Linked DNA regions of Homo sapiens: all the other regions are linked to region 5. Evidence: promoter capture Hi-C in 16 types of primary human blood cells and fetal thymus (Javierre and others, 2016). All regions are on one chromosome and are shown on one strand. Each heading gives the region's core, a stretch centred on a gene start or on the middle of the fragment in contact. The rest is flanking DNA. Distances are from core to core; before and after follow the strand shown.

Region 1 (2,700 bases), core at 43-2,542, 300 kb after region 5:
TTTAACTTGACATCCCCTTTGTGATACAGCCAGGCTATCAGCTCTACGCCATCTCTTCCTTATCTAGATGTCACCCTTATCTGAAAGAATCCTTCTCCCGAAGCTTCCTCTCTCCCAAACTCCTCCAACTGTATGTGTTGGGGGTGGGGAGGGGGAGCTAGCAACTTATTTATTGATCTGTAATTCTGTGCCAGGTCCTCCACCAGGAGCTTGACCTACTCCATCTTTTTTAATCCTCCTAACTCCCCTGAAAGGTAGATAGCATCCCACTTCCTCACAGCTAAGGAAAGGGAGTATCTAACCACAGCAGTTGCCCTGATGTTCTACCCCAAATCCAAAGCCTGTGTCTGACTCTCCCTGCCTCCCGCTTCACCACCCCTCCACTTCATCCCCAGGGCACTAAGTGCCGTCAGCAGGTTCCTGCCCACCTGTTCACCACTGGACATAGGCCCTGAGGCCCTACAACCAGTGTGTACTGCATGAGTAAGCCCTAAACCATCAGCCAGAAAGGATTTTCTTTTGTTTGTTCCTTTTTGAGACAGAGTTTCGCTCTGTTGCCCAGGCTGGAGCGCAATGGTGCAATCTCTGATCACTGCAACCTCTGCCTTCTAGGTTCAAGTGATTCTCCTGCCTCAGCCTCCCGAGTAGCTGGGATTACAGGAATGCACCACCACGCCTGGCTAATTTTTTGTATTTTTAGTGGAGATGGGGTTTCTCCACGTTGGTCAGGCTGGTCTCAAACTCCCGACCTCAGGTGATTCGCCCACCTCAGCCTCCCAAAGTGCTGGGATTACAGGCATGAGCCACCGCACCCAGCCTAGGATTTTCTAATAGGATCACGCCACGCCCCTGCTTCAACCCCTTTCTTCAGTGACCCCACTGCTCACCAAATTAAGCCCAAAGGCCCTCATTGTCATTGGCCACCGTCTCCACAACTCCCTGTACTTTCCTACCTCTGGGTCCTCTCTGACTTTTAAAGCCTTCAAAGAATTTAGCAGGAAGATAGCTTTGTTAAAAATCACCTGCCCTAAGGTCATCTCTGGTGAGAATAACTGAATGCAAATTAAACTGACTCATCATAATAATAGTATGTCCTAAGGCAACCTGCAAATGTGGAATCTCCAGTACACACACACAGAGAGAGACTGAATTAGAATCTGCATCTTAAGGCTGGGCACTGTGGTTCACACCTATAATCCCAGCACTTTGGGAGTCCAAGGCAGGTGGACCACTTGAGCTAAGGAGTTCAAGACCACCCTGGGAAACATGGCAAAACCCTGTCTCTACCAAAAATACAAACCAATTAGCCAAATCTGGTGGCACACGGCCATGGTCCTAGCTAGTAGAGAGGTTGAAGTGGGAGAATCGCTTGAGCCTGGGAGGTGGAAGTTGCAGTGAACCGAGATCATACCACTTCACTCCAACCTAGGTGACAGTGAGACTATGTCTCCAAAACAAAAATCTGCATCTTAATAAGATTCCTAAGACAGGTTCTCAACCTTGAATGCCCTGGAGAGCTTACCTGGCCTGGGTGCCACCCCAGTTGTAATTGGTATGAGGAGGCCTCCCAGTAACTGCTCACTCATTTAAACGTAGTCATTCAGTGACAGAGCACTACCCTGACAGAGTACCAAAGACTCAACTCTCATACTGCTAAGAGGTAACTTTTTAGAACCTGGGGGAGGCAGGGAGCAATGTGACACAATTAACTTGAGTTTTTTTTCTTTGAAAAGCAAGTCACTTCTAGGGATTTACTCCATAGAAACACTGTGCACTTTTGCACCATTGTGAAAAGATATGAAGTGGTCACAAGTTTTATTCAAGTCAAATGGTCCCAATATGAGATGAAATTACAGTATACCCATATATGATGAAATACTAATTATTTGAGAATAAGACGGAAAAACATCCAAAATACTCTGTTCAGGTAAAAAAAAAAAAAAAGAAAGAAAGAAAAAAGAAAAAGTTGCAGAACACCACATATAAAAAGGATAACTTTAAAAAAATGATAAATATTAGTATATGCACAGAGAACGCGCTACTTTGAAAGGGAAGTATGAGACCTATCTTTTAGATGTATTCTTTTTATAACTTCTAGTTTTCTGTAGATCAGAGTTGAAATGCTGTTAGAAAACACATGGAATATGCCGGGCACAGTGGCTCATACCTGTAATCCCAGCACTTTAGGAGGCCGAGGTGGGTGGATCACCTGAGGTCAGGAGTTCGAGACCAGCCTGACCAACATGGTGAAACCCCATCTGTACTAAAAATACAAAAATTAGCTGGGCATGGTGGTGTAGGCCTATTGTCCCAGCTACTTGGGAGGCTGAGGCACAAGAATCATTTGAACCTGGGAGGCGGAGGTTGCAGTGAGCTGAGATCACGCCATTGCATTCCAGCCTAGGCAACAGAGCAAGACTCTGTCTCAAAAAAAAAAAAGGAATACAAAAAAAAGAAAACACATGGAATAAATAAATCTCAAAAAGCTTAAAAATGTAACTGATAGGCTGGGCGCAGTGGCTCACGCCTGTAATCCCAGCACTTTGGGAGGCCGAGGCAGGTGGATCACAAAGTCAGGAGATCAAGACCATCCTGGCTAACACAGTGAAACCCCATCTCTACTAAAAATACAAAAAATTAGCCGGGCGTGGTGGCGGGCATCTATAGTCCTAGCTACTGGGGAGGCTGAGGCAGGAGAAT
Region 2 (2,700 bases), core at 52-2,551, 280 kb after region 5:
GCTGGGTGTAGTGGCTGGTGCCTGTAATCCCAGCTACTCAGGAGGCTGAGGCAGGAGAATCACTTGAACCCAGGAGGCAGAGGTTGCAGTAAGCCGGGATCGCGCCATTGCACTCCAGCCTGGGCTACAAGAGAAACTCCGTCTCAAAAAATAAAAATAAAAAAAATAAAGATGGTGTCTGGGACAGAGACTTCCTGGAGATGGGAAGAGGGGGTCGAGTACCATGACCCAGGTGGGTGAACCTCAGCAAATGAGGGAACAGAGTCCTTTCTCCACAGACACTCACACCGGCAGCACATCCGTCCGCTCCCTAGGTCTGACACTGCTGTAAGACCACCTTGCCTTCCGGTGCCCTTAGAGCCCCTCCACTCGGGTTCTGTGTGGCCAAGTTAGTTCCTCCCAGCACCCCGGGCTTCCCCCGCTTCTCCCAAAGGTGATGTTAATAAAGACATCACATCACATCTTTTCCTCCTTCCAGATGACAGTACACAAGCCGGACGGAAGGTAGAGGATGGGGTAAGGAGCTGGGGGAAATGCTGTCATTTCCCCACAGTCATTCCTGCAGGTTTTTGGACAGGAGAAAGGCTTGTTATTATAGAGCCATCAGAGCCATCAGCCTCCTTCTGCAGGTGGGCGGAAGTCAAGTCCGTTTGAGGCCTCCATCCCCTTGGCCCATTCACCATTCAAATCCTCCCGAGAGTGCCCGCCAGTGGCAGACAAAGCCCGATGGAGTCTCAAGAACTAGGATCCTCTCCTGCCCTGACCCCTACCCCATTATCCCAGGCGAGATTACAGATTTGTGAACTTCAGTATAAAGAAATTTTTTGAAAATTCCACTTCAAAGAGCCAGTGGGTCTTCAGCCCCCACCTCTGGGCACAACCTCCAAGGGGTGGCAGTTGGTGTCTCTCCCAGCCCCTGAGTCCCTGTAGGGGTTGTTCACAGAGGTTGTGCCTGAGTTTTCTCTCATGCACGAAAGACCCTACAGAAGCCTTGGAAGACTGTGGCTCTGCCCCTTTCTTTGAGATCTTCTGGGGTCTCCAAGGGACAAGAGTGCATGGGGTTCCCTGCCAGTAGCTCCCCTTCCTCTCGGGTGCCAGGCTTTGTCTCGGAGGTAGCCCGGCTGTTGGCACCAAGTAGGCCCCCCACACTGTGCCATCTTTTGGAGTGAAGACCGCATGGGGGTAGCACTCCAGTCCTCGAGACCACCTTCCTCGTGCCCTTTTCTCAACTCTTCTCTCCCCCTTCTTCCAGCACAGCACCCACCTTGTTCCCCCTTAAATCAGCTGAGTGTTTATGGGCACCGGCTGCAGGTCCAGCACCTGCTCTGGGGATTGATGGTTTAGAAAATGAATAAAGGGAGGTGGGGAAAGAAGATGGCAGTGGGAGCACCCAGCCCTGTCCTGCTTCTTTGCAGAAGTGGTCGGAGAGTCCCCTAGAGTCAGGAAGAATGCCGTTGGTGGACCATGAGCTCCCCCAGGGCTGGGACTGTGCCTCGTCACCTTTGTGTGGCCAGCGCTGACTTGGCTCCCAGGCTTCCATTTGCACACATGTGAAATGGGCCTCATAATGCTTCCTTCTCAAGGCTGTTGTGAGACTTAGATACAATGCTGCATGGCAAACGTCCAGCACAGAGTGCTTGTGGCAGTGCCCTCTCAGCGCGGGAGGACAATGTTGGGCAAACTTGCTGGGCCACACGTACACAGCGGTGCTAATGGCAGTGCCTGCCTTGGGATCCCGGGAGGATGAAGTGGAATGCTGATGATGGCGAGGACCATTCTGGAACCTAGCACTTCAGCACCCAGTGAATGTGATTCAGAGATGGTGTGGGGAGCCAGGTGCACACTTGTAATTCCACCTACTCAGGAGGCTGAGGCAGGAGGATCACTTGAGGCCAGGAGTTCGAGACCAGCCTGGGCAACATAGCAAGATCTCTGTCTCAAAAAGGAAGAAAGGAAAGAGAGAAAGAGAGGGAGGGAGGGAGGGAGGGAGGAAGGAAGGGAGGGAGGGAGGGAGGGGATGCAGAGGGCAGGGGAAGGGAAGAATAACTGGGCACTGGGCTTGTCCTCTTGAAGACTGCCAACTCCTGCCCGCCCAACACAGCCTAGCCCCAGAATGTTTATTGCAAACCTGGTGGCGTGGAAACGCAGATGCCATTTGGGGAAAGAATCAGCCTTCACGGGAGGGAGAATGCAGTGAGGAGGGATGGAGGAGGCCTGAGTCCAAGAAGGAAGAAGGTTATGTAGACGAGGTCAGATGGAAAAGGGTCAGGACAGATGCAAAGAAGATGCTGGGTGTGGCCAGTGGTGCTGACGCCCCTCTTGGCCCACCCAGGCTCACCAGGGGCAGGTGGACAGTACACCTGCCCACCCACGCAGCATGAGGGCCTGTCTGCTCGACATCTGCAGAGCCAAGGGTGGCCAAGAATGTTACCCTTCAAGTAACCATGGAAGGTAAGTTAACTTCAGTCCTCCCAGACTCCATGGTGCCCACAGTGCCCAATTTTGGAAGGATAGTTATGCAAGGATATGGACAGAAGGCCCGGAAAGAAAGCTGCAAGCCATCTTCAGGAGCTCTATCTGCCAGACGGGATTATGGATGATTCTACCCTCCTTCTGTGTATTTTTCTATTATTAAGAGGTTTTCAAGGAACATGTATTACTTTTATATCAATTTTCCTTCAGCCCCTAGTTCACTCCAAG
Region 3 (2,700 bases), core at 77-2,576, 360 kb after region 5:
TAGGTGGGTTCCAACCCTGACCTGTCCTGATAGCAAGTGATGCCTGTAACAAGCTCGGGATCAATATTCATAGCGGGTGTCCTGGGCTGATAACACTATCCAAGACAATGTTCACTATCCGTGCAGACAGCTGAGATATTGCACCATTAGGGATGTTGTGTTAAATAACCTGATCCATTTCTGGGGCTATTTAATGAATTTCACAGTTTAGATAGTATCTTTAAGGAGAAGGCAAAGGCTATTCCGGAGGCACTGATGCAAATCAATGGTGCCAAGCTTCCTAAGGTATTCCACAAACAAAGGTGCCTATAATTCCAGCACAGCCTTGAAGAGCCGCTGAGTGCCATGAATAGTGTTAACAATGGAAAGAATTTGCAGTTTATGCAGAGGGAGTGGGGGGGAGGGGGCAATATTATGAGCCGTGTTAAAGCATTTTAGATAAAATCTTATGTTCCTAAAGTAAAATGCAACTGAAATTCTCCAGGTAAAACCCTGCGTTTTGAGCCAGCCCCCAGGGTAGGATATATGTGCCAAAGAGACAGCTTCATAAGACACAGCTTGATGACAAAGAGGGACACCTCAACTGCCAGACAGCCTGTGGGTAACCCCTTTTCCCAGTACCTCAGCCACCTTCCCCAAGATGTGCTTCTTCTACTCAAATTGGTCTGTAATATGGGAGAGGGTAAGCACTAGGTTTTAGAAGGAAGCCACAGATAGCAGAATCCATTGTTTGTTTACTGGACTCTATCTCCCTTGGTGCTGGAGAGGTCATTTACAATTAAAGGCTAGCATTTACCATTTCCCACCAGAGCTTTGAACTCTGGCTGCCAAGCACAGCAAGTATTCCCCCCGGCAAAAAAAAAAAAAAAAAAAAAACACCTCATAGACTAACTTGTGAAAGCTGAGTTGAAAATATAGCCTTCCCACCTGACCCCAAACCAAAGTTAAAAAAAATCAACTCCCTCATCTTAGGGCATGCTCCCTGCCACTGGTGGGTGCTTGAGCTTAATGGGCAAGGAAAATGGAGACGGGTGGCCGCTGAGGACCACATGCTCACAGAAGTTATGGAGATGCAGAGACTCAGCAGGGACATGGAGAGTCAAAAACAAGTGTGCAGGCTGGACGTGGTGGCTTACATCTGTAATCCCAGCACTTTGGGAGGCCGAGGCGGGCAGAACACCTGAAGTCAGCAGTTCAAGACCACCCTGGTCAACATGGCGAAACCCTGTCTCTACTGAAAATACAAAAATTACCCAGGTGTGGTGGCAGGCGCCTGTAATCCCAGCTACTGGGAAGGCTGAGGCAGGAGAATCACTTGAACCTGGGAGGCGGAGGTTGCAGTGAGCCGAGATCACACCATTGCACTCCAGCCTGGGCAACAAGAATGAAACTCCGTCTCAAAAACAAACAAACAAACAACAAAAACAAGTGCAGAGCAGAGCGGAGAAGCCACGAGAGACAGGCAGACAGGTGGGTTCCAGCTGCTGCCACTGTTGCTGACTTCTTCCTGATGCTGGTTGTTCCATTCCGGGTTCCCTGGGAGCCTCACTGCATCCCTACAATACTATTTCTTCTTGAGGGCTTCCCTGACTTACCCCACGCGGACTGGAGCACTCCTTCCCACATTGTTTCTGGGGCACGCTGCCATCATAGCCCTTGATGGACATCTCTTGGTTTTGCCTGATCTGAGGATCCACTCCCCCTTTTCTGGTGTCTGTAGCTGATTTTGATGAGATCCCCCTGGGCCCCCACCCTTGTATGTGGTAGTGATGGGACTGCCAATCAGGCCCCCCAACCTTCTTCTGGCCGGGAGGTAAGAGTGAGCCCCTGCAGTAGAGTCCTACTGGCCTCTCTCCCGGGAGTATCTGAAGCAGAGTGACACCGCTTCATTGTGGCAGTGGTGCCCAAAACTAAATAATCTGTTATTTCCCACTCTTGACGCTGATGGTTCCAGTACTTGCCCAGGTCTGGTTGTTCAGCATTTCCTTTGATTTTGTAAATTGCCTACACTCTTCCCAACCTTCTCTTCCCCTCTGCATTTTGGAATTCAATTAGCCAGAGTCAAGGAACCCTGACAGGCACAGCCTTTATCACACTGCCTGGCATACAGATTCTGGTCCTTGGATTGTCTTAAAGTCAGGGAGGGCAGAGCGTGCATCCCTGTGCCCACCAGTACCTTGGTGTTTGGTAGGTTGAAGAGTCGAAAGCAATAAATGGTGGCCCAGTAACACAAACCCAAAGCTCCACAGTTTGACTAAGATGGATTGGAAACCCATGAGAGACCATATAGGCTGAAGACAAAAATCGGATCAAGAAATATTTAGGTACGGATAGAGGTTCATAAAGGGTCTGACTCCCATGCTGAGCATCTGTGGAACAAGCTTATGTTTTTATTCAGGTCATCCATGCTGGGTACCATGCTTTTCATAAAGAAAAATGCAGGGGCCAGGCACAGTGGTTCACACCTATAATCTCTGCACTTTGGGAGGCTGAGGCGAGAGGATACTTGAGCCCAGGAGTTTGAGGCTGCAGTGAGCTATGAGTCATGCCACTGCACTCCAGTCTGGGTCATAGTACAAGACCCTGTCTCAGAAAGGAAGGAAGGAAGGAAGGAAGAAAGGAAGGAAGGAAGGAAGGGAGGAAGGGAAGGGAACAGAAAATAAAAATGCAGGCGTAGAACCACCATGAATTTAACCCCGT
Region 4 (2,700 bases), core at 201-2,700, 260 kb after region 5:
TCAGGCAGCTTCTGGAGATCCCGCCCTCAAGAGTCCAGGCATGGCCACCTGCCCCTCAGTCCCCGTGGGAGATCCTCCGAGCCTGAGCCCCATGGGTGCAGAGAGTACTGGCCAAGGTGGGTAAGAGCCTCTCCCAGGGCAGCCCATGACAGGCTCCTCATCCTGCACAGGTCCCCTTGGATCACACGCGTGGGTTTAGGGGTGCAGGAATGAGGTCTTCCCAACATTCCAGACCACGGGGGATAGTTCCTCCCGGCTCCAAACCATATGCCCACCCTGAAGCTCCATGCTGCAGCCAGAGACCCTGAGGCACAGGCTGGGGGAGCAGAGGAAGCCACGACCCACCCTGGGTGAAACTTGGCATCACCAGTGTCCCTGCAGCAGGAGTCCCCCCCACCCCACCACAGGACAGCTGTGGTCTCAAGCCCCTGAAGGCTCCATGGCCCCGAGATCCAGGCCAACACTGCCCCACTCAGCTCTCACGCATTGCCACCAACACTCCCAGCCCCACGAAGGAAAAGAAAATCCCCCACTCAGCTCTCATGCATTGCCACCAACACTCCCAGCCCCGCGAAGGAGAAGAAAATCATTTTTCCTCTGAGCACAGCTGAGACAGGCAAATTCTCAAAGAAGCGCTGAGGATGGTGAAAGGAAATCTAATCTTGCCACTTACTGAGAGCTCAGGCCGCCGTCCCGTGAGTGGCCTCCCATCTCCCTCCTGGGTCCCTTGTCTTTGTCCCAGCTTCTTCCTTAGCTGTGCTCACTAAGTGCGCAAGGATTTGAACCAGCCCTGTGCCCATCAGGGGAATTCCCAGGCAATGCAGGTTGCCAAGGACATCTATAGGCCCAGAGCACCGCGAAATACAGGCCTGGGGGAGGCACTCAACCTGTGAGCTGAGCAGATTTGCTGGCGGCGAAAGCTCCCAGCAACCTCACCCCTCTGGTGGGATGCCCCAGGCTTCTGCTTCCCGAGACCCCCCGGGGGAGAGGGGTCAGCTGCCCCTAATAGTGAGCCTTCCCGGGCTCACCTCTCCACGACAGGTGCTTCCAGGATCACCTCCCAAATACATCCCCCTCCCTCCAATGCCGGTCTCAGGGTCTGCTTTAGGAGTGAGGAAACCAAACCAAGATAGAGGACAAAGACTGAGAGTTTGGCAAAGGAAGGACTCAAAGAAGTGGTCCATGATAGAGGAGACAGGATGGAGGCACTTCTGTGTCGTTTGAGTCTCACTATGGTCCTTTAGCGTAGGTGATATTATTCCCATGTCTCAGCTGCAGCCATTGAGGCTCAGACACGCCCCAGATTCCCCACTGAGGACAGGTGAAGCTGGGATTCAAACCCAGGCCACTGACCGGAGCCCAGGTCCCAGATGCTTCCAGGCAGAGCTGGGGGAAATGGCATGTTCTCTGGAACTGGGACATTTTCAACCATTCCATGAAGTTAATACGATGACAGAAAACTGGCTCATTGAGTCCCTGGGACTGAGGAGAAGGCAGTCAGAGGGAGGACCACGTTTTATGCTCCCGATCGCCCCATCCCCTCCCCCCGCAGGCCTCGTGCTTCCCACCACCCGCTCATTCATTCCGCACGTTGAACAGCCTCATCTCCCTCTTTTCCCTTATCTCAAAAAGCCCAGAGCTCAGCTTTCTCTTCAAAAGCTCCGCTAATGAGAAGCACATTTGATTTCCTCGGGGGAGGCAGCTGTGGGATGAGAGCCGGAAGTGTAAACTCTGCTGGTGGCTGAATCATCGCGGTGCTTCTTAACTTTTTATGGCGATGTTTTCTAATTTTCTAAAAACACATAGAAGAATGAGGCTCATCGCTCTCGTTATCGGCATTGACTGGAGTGGAGTTCAAAAGGCTACAGATGGTGTTGAAATATTCTCCACAGGCTGGGGAGGCCGGCGTTCAGAACCCAGGGCCCCGCCCTCCTCGGGCCAGGCACGGGGAAGGCAGGACCCAGGGGAGCAGCCAGCACTGCGCATGCTGGGAGTGTTCAATAAATACAGGCTGAATGAATGAATGAACTGATGCAACCAAAACTTTCTTTTTCTCCAAGGAAATTAAAATGATTGGCCTATGACGACCCATTAATAAGATGGAATATGATACAGTCAAAAACTTAATGACTGGGAGAATATGTAATGACAGTGATAAAGTATTCCCCTTTTATTTTTAAAGTGAAAAGCAAATTGAAAAAAATAGAATTAGATCCGAGCTTTATTTTCAACACATGTACATAAATAAGCCAGGCACAGAAAGACAAATGTCATGCATTCTCACTTATTTGTGGGATCTAAAAATCAAAACAATTGAATTCATGGACATAGAAAGTAGAAGGATGGTTTCCGGAGGCTGGGAAGGATAGTTAGGGGTGGGGGCAGGGAGAGGGGGGATGCTTAATTAGTACAAAAAAAATAGAAAGAATGAGGCAGGGCGTGGTGGCTCAAGTCTGTAATCCCAGCACTTTGGGAGGCCAAAGTGGGCGGATCGCCTGAGGTCAGGAGTTCGAGACCAGCCTGGCCAACGTGGTGAAACCCCGTCTCTACTAAAAATACAAAAATTATCCGGGCGTGGTGGTGGGCGCCTGTAACTCCAGGTACTCGGGAGGCTGAGGCATGAGAATCACTTGAACCCGGGAGGTGGAGGTTGCAGTGAGCCGAGATTGCGCCACTGCACTCCAGCCTGGGCAATAGAGC
Region 5 (2,700 bases), core at 26-2,525:
CCGCGCGGCTCAGAGCTGCCTCGCTCGGCTCGCCGCACCAAGGCCGGCCAGAGACGCCGCCACCGCCGGGAAGCGCCGGCAACTCCCGAGTCACGCCGCCTCCCGAGACGCGGCGGGGCGCAGGGAGGGGACAGCAGTGGGGGCGGGGCGGGGAGGAGGAAGGAGGAGGGGGCGGGGAGCAAAAGTTCACACCGCTCGGGGCTCAGCCGCTCCCCTATCTCTTCCCAGGCCCGCCCCCGCCATCCCCCTTCCCTGAACCGGGTCCCACGGGCTTAGGCGCGGGAGAGCTCTGGCCTCCCCGCCCGGAACCGCCGCAAGGCTAGAGCCAGGGTTCTGGAAGCGCATCCGAGCTCGCAACCGGGGAGAGAGTGGCGGATGCCCACTTACCTGCCCCGGGCCGCGCCTGGAAACTTCCCCAAAGTGCGATAGGGGTGTGGGGGCGGAGCGCAAGGCTGGGGGGAATCCCCGTCCCCTACCGCCAAACGACGCGCGCTCACACCGTGAAAGCACTGGTCTGTCCGTCGGTCGGTCCCCCGCCTGCGGCTCCCAGAGCTGGGCGGTGCAGGGGCGCCCCGATTCCGACTACTGGGCTCCTTCTCCCGGACAGCCCGCCGGTGCGTTCCACGCGGCTTGCGCCCCCCGCCGGCCTCCGGCTATCCACGGCGCCACCACGCCACTGCTCGGTCCCCTGTCCCCTCGCTCCGGCCGCGTCCTCTCTGCGAGGGAGGGGGCGTGTGTCGCCGCTGGGTAACCCTTCCCGCGGGGTCCTCAAGCGCGCAGGGCGCCCGGAGCGCGGCCAGGACCAATGGCGAAGGGACTCCTCCCGCTGGGGATCGCTGAAGCCTCGGGGAGGCCGGGCCAAGGAGCCCGGGGCCCAAACCTGCCTCGGCTCGTCGAGCTCGCAAGTTCATTGTCTGCCTGGGCCGCCGCCGCCACCGCCACCGCCACCACCGCGCCGGGAGCGCCGCGGGGAGTGAGGCTGCGCGCCGCCTCCGCCGGCCCGGACTCCCTACGCCCAGCCCCGGCCGCCGCCGGCGCTGCCTGGCCCGAACCCGCGGAGGGGCGCCGGAGCCCCGAGCCCAGGGCCAGACCTCCTACCGCCGCTCCTCGCCGACCCCACCTCGGCGTCTGGCACCTAACTTGTACCTGAGAAGCCTGAGTCCAGCCCGGGAGCCTCTGCGGCTCCGGCTCCGCGGGAGCGCGCCCAGCCCCGAGCCTCTAGCCCCGCATCCAGGGCGCGTCAACCTGACTCCCCGAGCGCTGGGAGGAAAAGTTTGGGAGTGACGTGCAGACGGCGAATGAAACATCCGAGGAGAACCCTCCCCCCGCCCCATGTCGCGCTGACACACATCAGCTCCAGTCTGGAATGTGAGATCAAGGCGTGTGCGCCGAGCGGTGGGTTTGGCCCCTGCCCCCTCCCCCTCCGAGTCAACACTGCTTGTGTGTTGCGGTGATTCCAAATAAAAGCACATCGAAACCCCTGAAATCTGGCAGTGACACCTTGCCAGATACTTCTTTTTTTTAAAGACAGAGTTTCGCTCTTGTTGCCCAGGCTGGAATGCAATGGCGCGATCTCGGCTCACTGCAACTTCCGCCTCCCGGGTTCAAGAGAGTCTCCTGCCTCAGCCTCCCGGGTTCAAGAGAGTCTCCTGCCTCAGCCTCCCGAGTAGCCGGGATTACAGGCATGCGCCACCACGCAAAATAGGCTAATTTTATATTTTTAGTACAGACGGGGTTTCTCCATGTTGGTCAGGCTGGTCTCGAACTCCCGACCTCAGATGATCCGTCCGCCCCCCCAACCCAAAGTGCTGGGATTACAGGCGTAAGCCACCGCGCCCGGCCGCCAGAGACATCTTTAAGGAACTTGGCGGTCTGGAGCCAGCCCGTACATTAATATTCAAGGCCACAGCGCTGGTGAGTTCGGCGCCCTCTGTTGTATTTTTGCATCCCGGGAAGGCTGGCCCGGCTCTTTGGCCCGGCGTGTTTTGCTTCCGCGGGGGAGGTAAAGCTCTGCAGGACCCCGATCGCCACGGCCTGCCGCAGTGGCCTGGAGTCGGCTGCCCCAGGGAACCACCTGGACAGCCCGAGGGCAAGAAAGCGGCACCAGTGGCCGACTCCACTGACTCTGGGCTGAAGATGCCATCAGTTAAAGAAAAGACACATGAAATTCTGGCAGATTCGCTCAGAGGGCGCTTGGAGCACCAAGCCCAGCCTCTCAGGAAACTGAGGTCCAAGGGACAAAAAGAATCTGCAGTCTCTTGCCGGCCTGTGTCCCCGTGGCCAGAGTCCAGCACCCTCTTCCTCGAAGCAACCAGAAGTGGAAATGAAAGTGCTCCGTTAACTGTAGACTACATGCCACCGAAGGGTCATTCCTGACAGTGGCTTCTCCCCATTATCTCTTTATTGCCGGAGGCTTCATCTCGCCCCCCTGAAGCTACAGTCCACCCTGAGGTCATAAACTTCTGCTCAGCACCCATGGCAACTAATGCAGAGGTCACCATCAGAGGATTATAACTGCAGATGGGAAACCGGGATGAGAGGGGAGTTCTTTAAAATCCTGTCTTGTTTTCCTGCAAATAATGCCTCTTACATAAAATCTGCGAAGAAAGATGAATGCAGCAAAGAGACTTGCCTTAGAATCTCAGACTAGATTGCTTTTTCCATATAGACTCCACTTAGTGATTTTTGTTCTTTATTTTT

The links. Contacts are between HindIII fragments. The CHiCAGO score rates a contact against its expected background, and 5 or more counts as called.
Region 1: a fragment that was not itself captured here is called in contact with the fragment with the promoter of CHST15 in region 5 in 3 of 17 cell types (monocytes, neutrophils and M0 macrophages); the score reaches 10.2 in monocytes.
Region 2: a contact is called between a fragment that was not itself captured here and the fragment with the promoter of CHST15 in region 5, in 6 of 17 cell types (neutrophils, monocytes, M0 macrophages and 3 more). The highest score is 12.5, in neutrophils.
Region 3: a fragment that was not itself captured here is called in contact with the fragment with the promoter of CHST15 in region 5 in 1 of 17 cell types (monocytes); the score reaches 5.5 in monocytes.
Region 4: a fragment that was not itself captured here is called in contact with the fragment with the promoter of CHST15 in region 5 in 3 of 17 cell types (monocytes, M0 macrophages and neutrophils); the score reaches 8.1 in monocytes.

What each region holds. Positions count from the first base shown.
Region 1 is chr10:124,393,717-124,396,416 of GRCh38, forward strand. No RefSeq gene overlaps it. Among named protein-coding and RNA genes, the nearest start is that of OAT, 24 kb to the right of the region's middle. The HindIII fragment of the contact is 2,383 bases long and covers 102-2,484 here.
Region 2 is chr10:124,376,178-124,378,877 of GRCh38, forward strand. No RefSeq gene overlaps it. Among named protein-coding and RNA genes, the nearest start is that of OAT, 41 kb to the right of the region's middle. The HindIII fragment of the contact is 6,926 bases long and covers 1-2,700 here.
Region 3 is chr10:124,454,063-124,456,762 of GRCh38, forward strand. No RefSeq gene overlaps it. Among named protein-coding and RNA genes, the nearest start is that of NKX1-2, 5.4 kb to the left of the region's middle. The HindIII fragment of the contact is 2,105 bases long and covers 275-2,379 here.
Region 4 is chr10:124,353,290-124,355,989 of GRCh38, forward strand. No RefSeq gene overlaps it. Among named protein-coding and RNA genes, the nearest start is that of OAT, 64 kb to the right of the region's middle. The HindIII fragment of the contact is 6,746 bases long and covers 1-2,700 here.
Region 5 is chr10:124,092,323-124,095,022 of GRCh38, forward strand. CHST15 (carbohydrate sulfotransferase 15) reads right to left here and starts at 1,276. Exons shown (of 8, transcript NM_001270764.2): 1 at 1,147-1,276. The HindIII fragment of the contact is 12,111 bases long and covers 1-2,700 here.